Regions from separate parts of the Homo sapiens genome. Here region 2 is linked to region 1. The links are contacts of gene promoters, found by promoter capture Hi-C in human tissues and cell types (Jung and others, 2019). All regions are on one chromosome and are shown on one strand. The core of a region is centred on a gene start or on the middle of the fragment in contact, and the rest is flanking DNA. Distances in the headings are between cores, read along the strand shown. Region 1 holds the start of LRRTM3 (leucine rich repeat transmembrane neuronal 3). Region 2 overlaps CTNNA3 (catenin alpha 3).

Region 1 (4,377 bases), core at 857-3,356:
TTAGGAAAAATGAAGTAGACAAAACATTGTCTTTGTCCTTGTGGAACTTACATCTCAGTATTATAAGTGTGCAAACCCTCTCTTCCTACTAGGAGAAAATATTATTTTTAATCATTCCTTCACAGTGAGTTTCTTAAACTTATTTCATCAGAGACTATTGAAAAGCACACACTCTTCCATCCCCCTAGAATGAGAATCCTGGGGGAGGGATTGGGCAGTCTATCTTTTTAAGAAACTCACTGGATGTTTCATGTGCATTCACAGCTTAGGTAACTCTGGGGGAAAGCACTGCCCTATTAAGAACATACTGCCCAAGGAATTGGTAATATCCATTGTACTATATCTGTAGGACCCCTTTTGATTGTCATTACTAGCCTTTATCAAACATCTCATCCTTGGAGAATGTGAAAGCTCTCCACGGTTTTCCACAGACAGTTCACCTAACAAAAAACAACAAGGCAAACTTTTTCAAGAATACCATTATTTTTAAATAAAATGCCTCTACATGGCAGATGTTATTATGTTCTACTTTGGAGATGAAAAGAATCGAACATTATTAGTCATGATCCACAGAACCAGAAGATTTATTTTAAAGATAAAGTTCAGATGATGAACATAAAGGAAGTTATCTCATCAAAGAAGGCAAGACTGAGTAAATCTCAGAAATCCACCATGTACAATATTTAAAAATGCTCACTAAAGTTGTTCTTTGTGAGTTAATGAAGGTCAGTATAGTCAATATTCAGTACGTAATCCTAGCAAGTACAAATAAAGTTAATATTATTCAAATATCTTACACAGGCTTATTGCATGCAACACACTGTTCTAAGTAACATACAGATATTAAAATGACTTAATTCTCAAAACATGAAGTGAGTTTTTGTTTTTATGCCCGTTTTGCAGATGAGAAAACTGAGGCATAGGGAAGGTAAGTAACGCGCTTAAGGTTACATAGCTGGTAAATTGTAGCCAGGAGTTGGAATCTAGGTGCCAAAATCTATGCTGTTAATCACTAAACTACGCTGCCTTAGTTTTTATACTTCTTTAGGAACCTCAGACCAAAAGAAATTTAGGCAATTCTAATAGAACAAGCAAGAATTTGCTAATCACAGCTTCCTTGCCCCAATCCTTTAATCGGCTTCATTTTCACTGACTTCTTTTTTAAATGAAGATAACAATGTTGTTGAACAGGATCATCTAGTGGTTAGTGGTTCGGCATAAGAATGACTCGCTTCTGAAGCTCAGCTCTAGCACTCGCTTGCTGTATGACCTTGAGAAAGTTACCTCCCCAAGTCTGTTTCCTCATCTTTAAAAGAGAGGTTATAATAGGACCCACATCATACTATTGTTTAAAGAGAAAACAACGTAGCCCATTTAAAGCACTTAGAAAGTGCTCCATAAATATTATTAGTGTAATAAATAGCAGCAACATCAATAAAGTATGAACCAAATGATCTCTTGATTCGTATCCTAACACTAAAAATGGTTTATTTCCCTTCTAATTAAAAGAGAATTACAACAACCAAAACAACAAACGAAACTATAGCCATAAAATCAATTATATCGTCTGTGAGAAAACCGGAAAGGCTATTGGACACATTAATTCACTTGTCATCAGTCATCCCCTCTATTCCAAAATGTTTGTGTTCTAACATCCTGAGACACCTTGCATAATATAATCACTGTGACTCCAAGAGGTCAAATGGGCAGGCAGTTAATGCTTCTCTGTGAAAAGCTCAATAATTCATTTTATAAATTTCAGTTTAAAGCCTGCGTTGAGGTTAAGAAAAATTGACGTTCGGTCTGTGAACTTAATGTCAAGCTCCAGAAAAACTCTGGGCAGCACATGTTTAGCAATTAAGTGGACACAGACAATAAAGACGTTGCCAAATTGTAAAACAAGACTTGGAAATCACAGAAAATGTTGCTAGTTATTGATCACGGTGACCATTCAGTTCCTACTGAGCCACCCAAAAGAATCATTCATTTTCCAGCAGAGAGCCTGCTCATTTGCAAGATAAAAGAGAGACATTTCTGCACATGCCCATAATGTTCTTCACCACTGGGGGCAGCTTTACATAAGACTGCATTCACTGAAACCAAAGCAACAGTCCGAGCAGCTTTCAGAATGACAGTCTGCAGAAGTGAGCTGAGCGTGTGCGCGGTACGGGGCTCTCCTGCCTTCTGGGCTCCAACGCAGCTCTGTGGCTGAACTGGGTGCTCATCACGGGAACTGCTGGGGTATGGAATACAGATGTGGCAGCTCAGGTAGCCCCAAATTGCCTGGAAGAATACATCATGTTTTTCGATAAGAAGAAATTGTAGGATCCAGTTTTTTTTTTAACCGCCCCCTCCCCACCCCCCAAAAAACTGTAAAGATGCAAAAACGTAATATCCATGAAGATCCTATTACCTAGGAAGATTTTGATGTTTTGCTGCGAATGCGGTGTTGGGATTTATTTGTTCTTGGAGTGTTCTGCGTGGCTGGCAAAGAATAATGTTCCAAAATCGGTCCATCTCCCAAGGGGTCCAATTTTTCTTCCTGGGTGTCAGCGAGCCCTGACTCACTACAGTGCAGCTGACAGGGGCTGTCATGCAACTGGCCCCTAAGCCAAAGCAAAAGACCTAAGGACGACCTTTGAACAATACAAAGGATGGGTATGTTTTGTCATTTTTCTTCTTTCCTTCTTAAAAACAAAAAACAAAAAACCTCTAGTGTGTGTAATAATTCTGCCTTAATTATTTTAGAGATTACCTTGCTCTGCTCTAAGACTATGAATTTATTTGCTTAGTGGCATGTTTCCTTGTTTAACTATTTAAAAAAACAAAACACTAAAGACAATTCTCTTTAATTACAAAGAGATAATATGTGATGTTAAGTGTTATTTAGATTTAAATTTTTAAAAATGAAAAATATATGCCTATTTTTGCTTGATTAAGGATTAATTCTTTTTTGGGGGGATAACTTTTCTAAGTTGTTTTTATTTCCAGGTTTCAATGTAATTAGGCTACTGAGCGGATCAGCTGTAGCACTGGTTATAGCCCCCACTGTCTTACTGACAATGCTTTCTTCTGCCGAACGAGGATGCCCTAAGGGCTGTAGGTGTGAAGGCAAAATGGTATATTGTGAATCTCAGAAATTACAGGAGATACCCTCAAGTATATCTGCTGGTTGCTTAGGTTTGTCCCTTCGCTATAACAGCCTTCAAAAACTTAAGTATAATCAATTTAAAGGGCTCAACCAGCTCACCTGGCTATACCTTGACCATAACCATATCAGCAATATTGACGAAAATGCTTTTAATGGAATACGCAGACTCAAAGAGCTGATTCTTAGTTCCAATAGAATCTCCTATTTTCTTAACAATACCTTCAGACCTGTGACAAATTTACGGAACTTGGATCTGTCCTATAATCAGCTGCATTCTCTGGGATCTGAACAGTTTCGGGGCTTGCGGAAGCTGCTGAGTTTACATTTACGGTCTAACTCCCTGAGAACCATCCCTGTGCGAATATTCCAAGACTGCCGCAACCTGGAACTTTTGGACCTGGGATATAACCGGATCCGAAGTTTAGCCAGGAATGTCTTTGCTGGCATGATCAGACTCAAAGAACTTCACCTGGAGCACAATCAATTTTCCAAGCTCAACCTGGCCCTTTTTCCAAGGTTGGTCAGCCTTCAGAACCTTTACTTGCAGTGGAATAAAATCAGTGTCATAGGACAGACCATGTCCTGGACCTGGAGCTCCTTACAAAGGCTTGATTTATCAGGCAATGAGATCGAAGCTTTCAGTGGACCCAGTGTTTTCCAGTGTGTCCCGAATCTGCAGCGCCTCAACCTGGATTCCAACAAGCTCACATTTATTGGTCAAGAGATTTTGGATTCTTGGATATCCCTCAATGACATCAGTCTTGCTGGGAATATATGGGAATGCAGCAGAAATATTTGCTCCCTTGTAAACTGGCTGAAAAGTTTTAAAGGTCTAAGGGAGAATACAATTATCTGTGCCAGTCCCAAAGAGCTGCAAGGAGTAAATGTGATCGATGCAGTGAAGAACTACAGCATCTGTGGCAAAAGTACTACAGAGAGGTTTGATCTGGCCAGGGCTCTCCCAAAGCCGACGTTTAAGCCCAAGCTCCCCAGGCCGAAGCATGAGAGCAAACCCCCTTTGCCCCCGACGGTGGGAGCCACAGAGCCCGGCCCAGAGACCGATGCTGACGCCGAGCACATCTCTTTCCATAAAATCATCGCGGGCAGCGTGGCGCTTTTCCTGTCCGTGCTCGTCATCCTGCTGGTTATCTACGTGTCATGGAAGCGGTACCCTGCGAGCATGAAGCAGCTGCAGCAGCGCTCCCTCATGCGAAGGCACAGGAAAA
Region 2 (4,377 bases), core at 1,296-3,795, 93 kb before region 1:
GCAGGTATGCAAGATAGAAAAACAGCCTGATTTCTAATACCAGATTAATACTTTTGTAGTTTCTGATTTACGATACTGTTAGCAAAGCTTCTCACTTGTTGAATCTAGAATTTAAATATGTGTACCAATAAGGATTAAAACAGTATTAAGATATTTAAAATGCAAACAAATACCTGAAGGTTTTTCTTTCCTAGAGTTTTCTTACAGGAGCACTCATAGAATCTTAGAAGATTAGAATTGAAAGAAGTACCGACAGAGGTTAAGTTATTTACCTGTAGTCCCAGAGCTCATTACTAGCAAAACTGGGGTTTAAATTCAGAGCTCCCACTCTGCTTCTACTCGTGCTCCTTCTTCAGCATAAACCAATGCAGCATGGAGAATTCTATTCTAAACACCTCAACCCCTCACAACTACTAATTTCTCTTTTTTTTTTTGTTTTTCCTTTTTGAGACGGAGTCTAGCTCTGTTGCCCAGGCTGGAGTGCAGTGGTGCGATCTCGGCTCACCGCAAGCTCCGCCTCCTGGGTTCCCGCCATTCTCCTGCCTCAGCCTCCCGAGTAGCTGGGACTACAGGCGCCCGCCATCACGCCCGGCTAATTTTTTGTATTTTTAGTAGAGACAGGGTTTCACCGTGTTAGCCAGGATGGTCTCTATCTCCTGACCTCGTGATCCGCCTGCCTCGGCCTCCCAAAGTGCTGGGATTACAGGCGTGAGCCACCGCGCCTGGCCTACTAATTTCTTCTTTAAGCAACCTTTATGTCCTCAAAAAGTCATAAAAAAGGGAAAAAAAAGAATTTTTGTTTTATATGTTTTTAAATGACAGCTTTAAAGACAGTTACCTGAAAATGAAACAAAGAATGATTCCAAAGCTTTACTCCCATGAAATAGCCTCTTCAATACTCCCCTGATCCAATGCATCACCATCATCCTCTTTCACCTGGACTACTACAATAATCAATCTTATGTCCTTCCAAATAAGTCTCTAATCTGCAGGAAAAACAATGGTCTTTTTAAAATGAAAACCTGATCATGTTATTTTATTTCTTTAAACTCCCCAGTGATTCTCTGATGCTCTTTGGATCCATAAGCAGTAAGGCCTTTGTAAGCTTGTGATCCTTCAATCCCATTTCTGGCCCATCTTCCCTTGTGTGCCAGGCTTCACTCGTTCTGACTTTTCAAATTTCTTAATTGTGCTATGCTTTTTCCCATCTCAAGACTTTACCATACGCTTGCTCTCTGTCTAGAACATTTCCTATGCCCAATCCAAGCTTTCACTCCACTAACTTTTAATCCACCCTTACCTCTCAGGTTTGAAATCTTTTCTGGGATGCTTTCTCTGGCTTTCATTACTGAGCTGTCTCTCTACCAGTTGGCACTTCAATTGTTTACTGGTTTGATTCCTCTCCTAGACTATAAGCACCATGAAAGCAGCGGATATTTTACTAGACAGTAAATCCTCAGCCTACCTAGCACACAGTAGCAATTCAATAAAGAGTTGTGCAGAGAAGAAACAAAAAAAAGGGGAAGGAGCATGAGATGCAGGAAAGCAGAGGAGAGAGGAAAGGGAAAGAGGGAAGAAGGGAGAGAAGCATGAAAACAATCCACTATTTTTCCAGCACAATGTCTTTAATATGATGAATTCTCTTTTATCTGATATCTTCAGGGATGAGATATTCTGATTAATTCATTCAATTTAAGACATAGTTCAAGCTTTCAAAAACTAATGAGGATAAGGCAAGCAGATTAAAGAAGACAAGGAATTCAATTGTATGGAATATAGAGCAAATCCTTTATCAACAAATAGCATAAGGAAAGGAATGAATTTGGTCAGGTGCTCTGAAACACTGAACAAAATACCTACGTACACAGCCACTCATCCTGAAAAACCCAGCACATTCTAACACCCAGAAGCACTGCAAACCACTAAGTAATTCACTGCTCAATTAAAGTTCATATCAAAGACATAATATTTCTATAAGTTGGGAAGAAACTACACTCATTTTGGCAGAAAAAATGACTCTATAGTTTTGATGATAAATTGTTATTCTTACAAAGAGAGGTCTGAGACCCTGTATATATCTATAAGCAGTAGACAGGGCCTTAATTTTTGAAAGTCTCATGTAGATATCTAAGATCACGCACTGTAAAAGCACACACAGCTCAATTTATCTGTCTTAGAAGGAAAGTGAGCCAGATGGACCCTGCTGGGATTTGTACCTGAAAGTTACGGGAAAATTTGAAGTTCCGGAAAAAGTTCTTAAGGCACACCAGTTAAGAAAAATAAGTTGAAAAATATATTGTTTTTGAGGAGGCCATTTACTAAGCCAACAAAATTAAATTAATGCCACAATCACTGAGAAAATAAAAAGATATACACGTTATAATTTTAGTTCTCAATTATTCTCCTGTAATCAGTTTGTCTTCCTACTAGTTGTGGATATATCAATTTTCAAAAAAAAAAAAGGAAGAAGAAAAGGTTTTTTTATGACCCAACTCAAAGTCACAGATTCTTCTAGCTAGTAGCAATCCAGAAATAACTCAGCCTAAACTTCTCATTTTAAAGGTCAGAAAAACTGAAGCTAAGAGACATTAAATGACCCTAGCAAGGTGACACCGTGAGACATTGGCAGAGTGAGGACCAGAGCTCTAATCCCCTAACTCAGTAGCTAGATTTCTGAGCACTAGATCACTGGAGGAAGCAGCCATATTTTTCTATTCAGAAATTTTTTTTCTTCAAAGCAAATGCATCACATTCTATTTGAGCTTGTAGACACCTAAAAACCCCAGATGGTCTCATATCAACTTCCTCCAAGGCAGTTCACCCCCTTCCTGAATTTGTGCGATAGATTATTTTTACTCTAAAAGAAGAATTTTATTTATATCCATGTTATATTTTATCTTGGTGCTTTCAGATCATTGTTTCTGCCTTTTAAGATCAAATTGAATTTTGGATCTGCCATTCATGTTGCTAGGTAGTCCTCTGAGGTCTGAATCATTGAAGAATCTAAAGAGCATGACTTGTGTGTCTTCATTCAGGTCACAGTGAGGACACTGAATAGGGAGAGCAGAGCTGCTGCTAGCCAGTCTGCCAGGAGGCTTAATGCATGAATCAAGACCTACTTCATTGACTGTTCAGTAGGCATTGAATCCACCTAAAGATTTTTTCATCCAATCCACATTTTTCTATCTTGTTTATATCTCTATAATAAGCATAATTGCACTGACTACGTGCAAATCCTTATAGAATAAGCATTTAAAAACAAAATATTACATTTCTAGGAGGTTTTTTAGTTGACAAAGTATTTTATGCACATTATTTCATCTGAAACTCAGAGAAAGTAAACAAGTCAGGGTTTATTATTTCTGTTTTGTAGATTAGGAAACTAAGTTTCAGAGAAGTTCATTGACTTACTCACCATCAACAAGCTAATACGTATTGAAGTAGTGTGTTCCTAGACACTTGCTCCAACACTTTTATGTTATTTCATCTGGATAGTGTAGGTAGCTGTCAAATACATGACTGAGATGAGTTTCAGTACTGTACTACAAAATCTCAAGTGAACTACATATCCAATTTTCTGAACACCAAGAGAGCCCAACAGGGAGAGAAAGGCTCCTCTTCCATGTGTTTTCTCAAGATGGACTAATAGGATTTCACGAATCCTGTTTCAAGTATTGTAAACACACACACACACCAGCTTGCTATTTTTCTATTTTGAATACCTAAGAAGCTTTTACCCATCCCGCCCTTTGTCCCAGTAAGTAGGCCTTTACTGTCAAGAAAAAGAGCCTAGTTGTCTTGCCAAAATGTTATTGGGAAGGTACCTTATCAAAGACCAACAATAGGGTGTATTGTTCCCATGTTCTTTCAATGACACACTCAGCTCCTTGGTATGTCTCCCTGGTTCCTAGATAGAGAATGCCAATACAGGTTTTAAGGGCTGCAGCCAATCCCCCACTTTTCCTGCCTTCTACAGTTGAGCTAATAGCCAGCTTTTGTACCTATTATGTGTACTCACATACAATTGTCAGGTTAGCTATTAAGTAGATAATCAGATGCTGTTTTGAGTGTTGGCTTTCACAGATCTATAAAAGACACCCTGCTACACACATACATGTGCAAGATATTACGTCCTAAGGGTCCACTGTGTATCCTGACTGTGCTGAGTATTACAAGGGGCATTAACAATAACACTTCACAGTTACACAGGATTTTAGAATTGACAAAATACTTTCATAGATATCATTGTGATCCTCACAATAGTTATATGAAATAAACAGTACAGATGCCATCATTTCCATTTTATAGATGAGAAAAGTGAGATACAGCAAATTCAGTGACCTACCCAAGGTTACACAACTATTGAGTCACTGAGTG

What was found. The method cuts DNA at HindIII sites, captures the fragments that hold promoters and counts their contacts. A contact is called where the count stands out against the background at its distance.
Region 2: a fragment that was not itself captured here is called in contact with the fragment with the promoter of LRRTM3 in region 1 in 3 of the 25 tissues and cell types used here (dorsolateral prefrontal cortex, hippocampus and mesenchymal stem cells).

What each region holds. Positions count from the first base shown.
Region 1 is chr10:66,923,930-66,928,306 of GRCh38, forward strand. LRRTM3 (leucine rich repeat transmembrane neuronal 3) reads left to right here and starts at 2,107. Exons shown (of 3, transcript NM_178011.5): 1 at 2,107-2,658; 2 at 2,992-4,377. The coding sequence starts at 2,655. The region is part of intron 7 of CTNNA3 (catenin alpha 3); the gene reads right to left. The region is part of intron 3 of LOC101928961 (a long non-coding RNA gene); the gene reads right to left. RefSeq lists an enhancer at 1,494-2,350 and a silencer at 1,970-2,079. The HindIII fragment of the contact is 13,899 bases long and covers 1-4,269 here.
Region 2 is chr10:66,830,181-66,834,557 of GRCh38, forward strand. The region is part of intron 7 of CTNNA3 (catenin alpha 3); the gene reads right to left. Among named protein-coding and RNA genes, the nearest start is that of LRRTM3, 94 kb to the right of the region's middle. The HindIII fragment of the contact is 4,136 bases long and covers 478-4,377 here.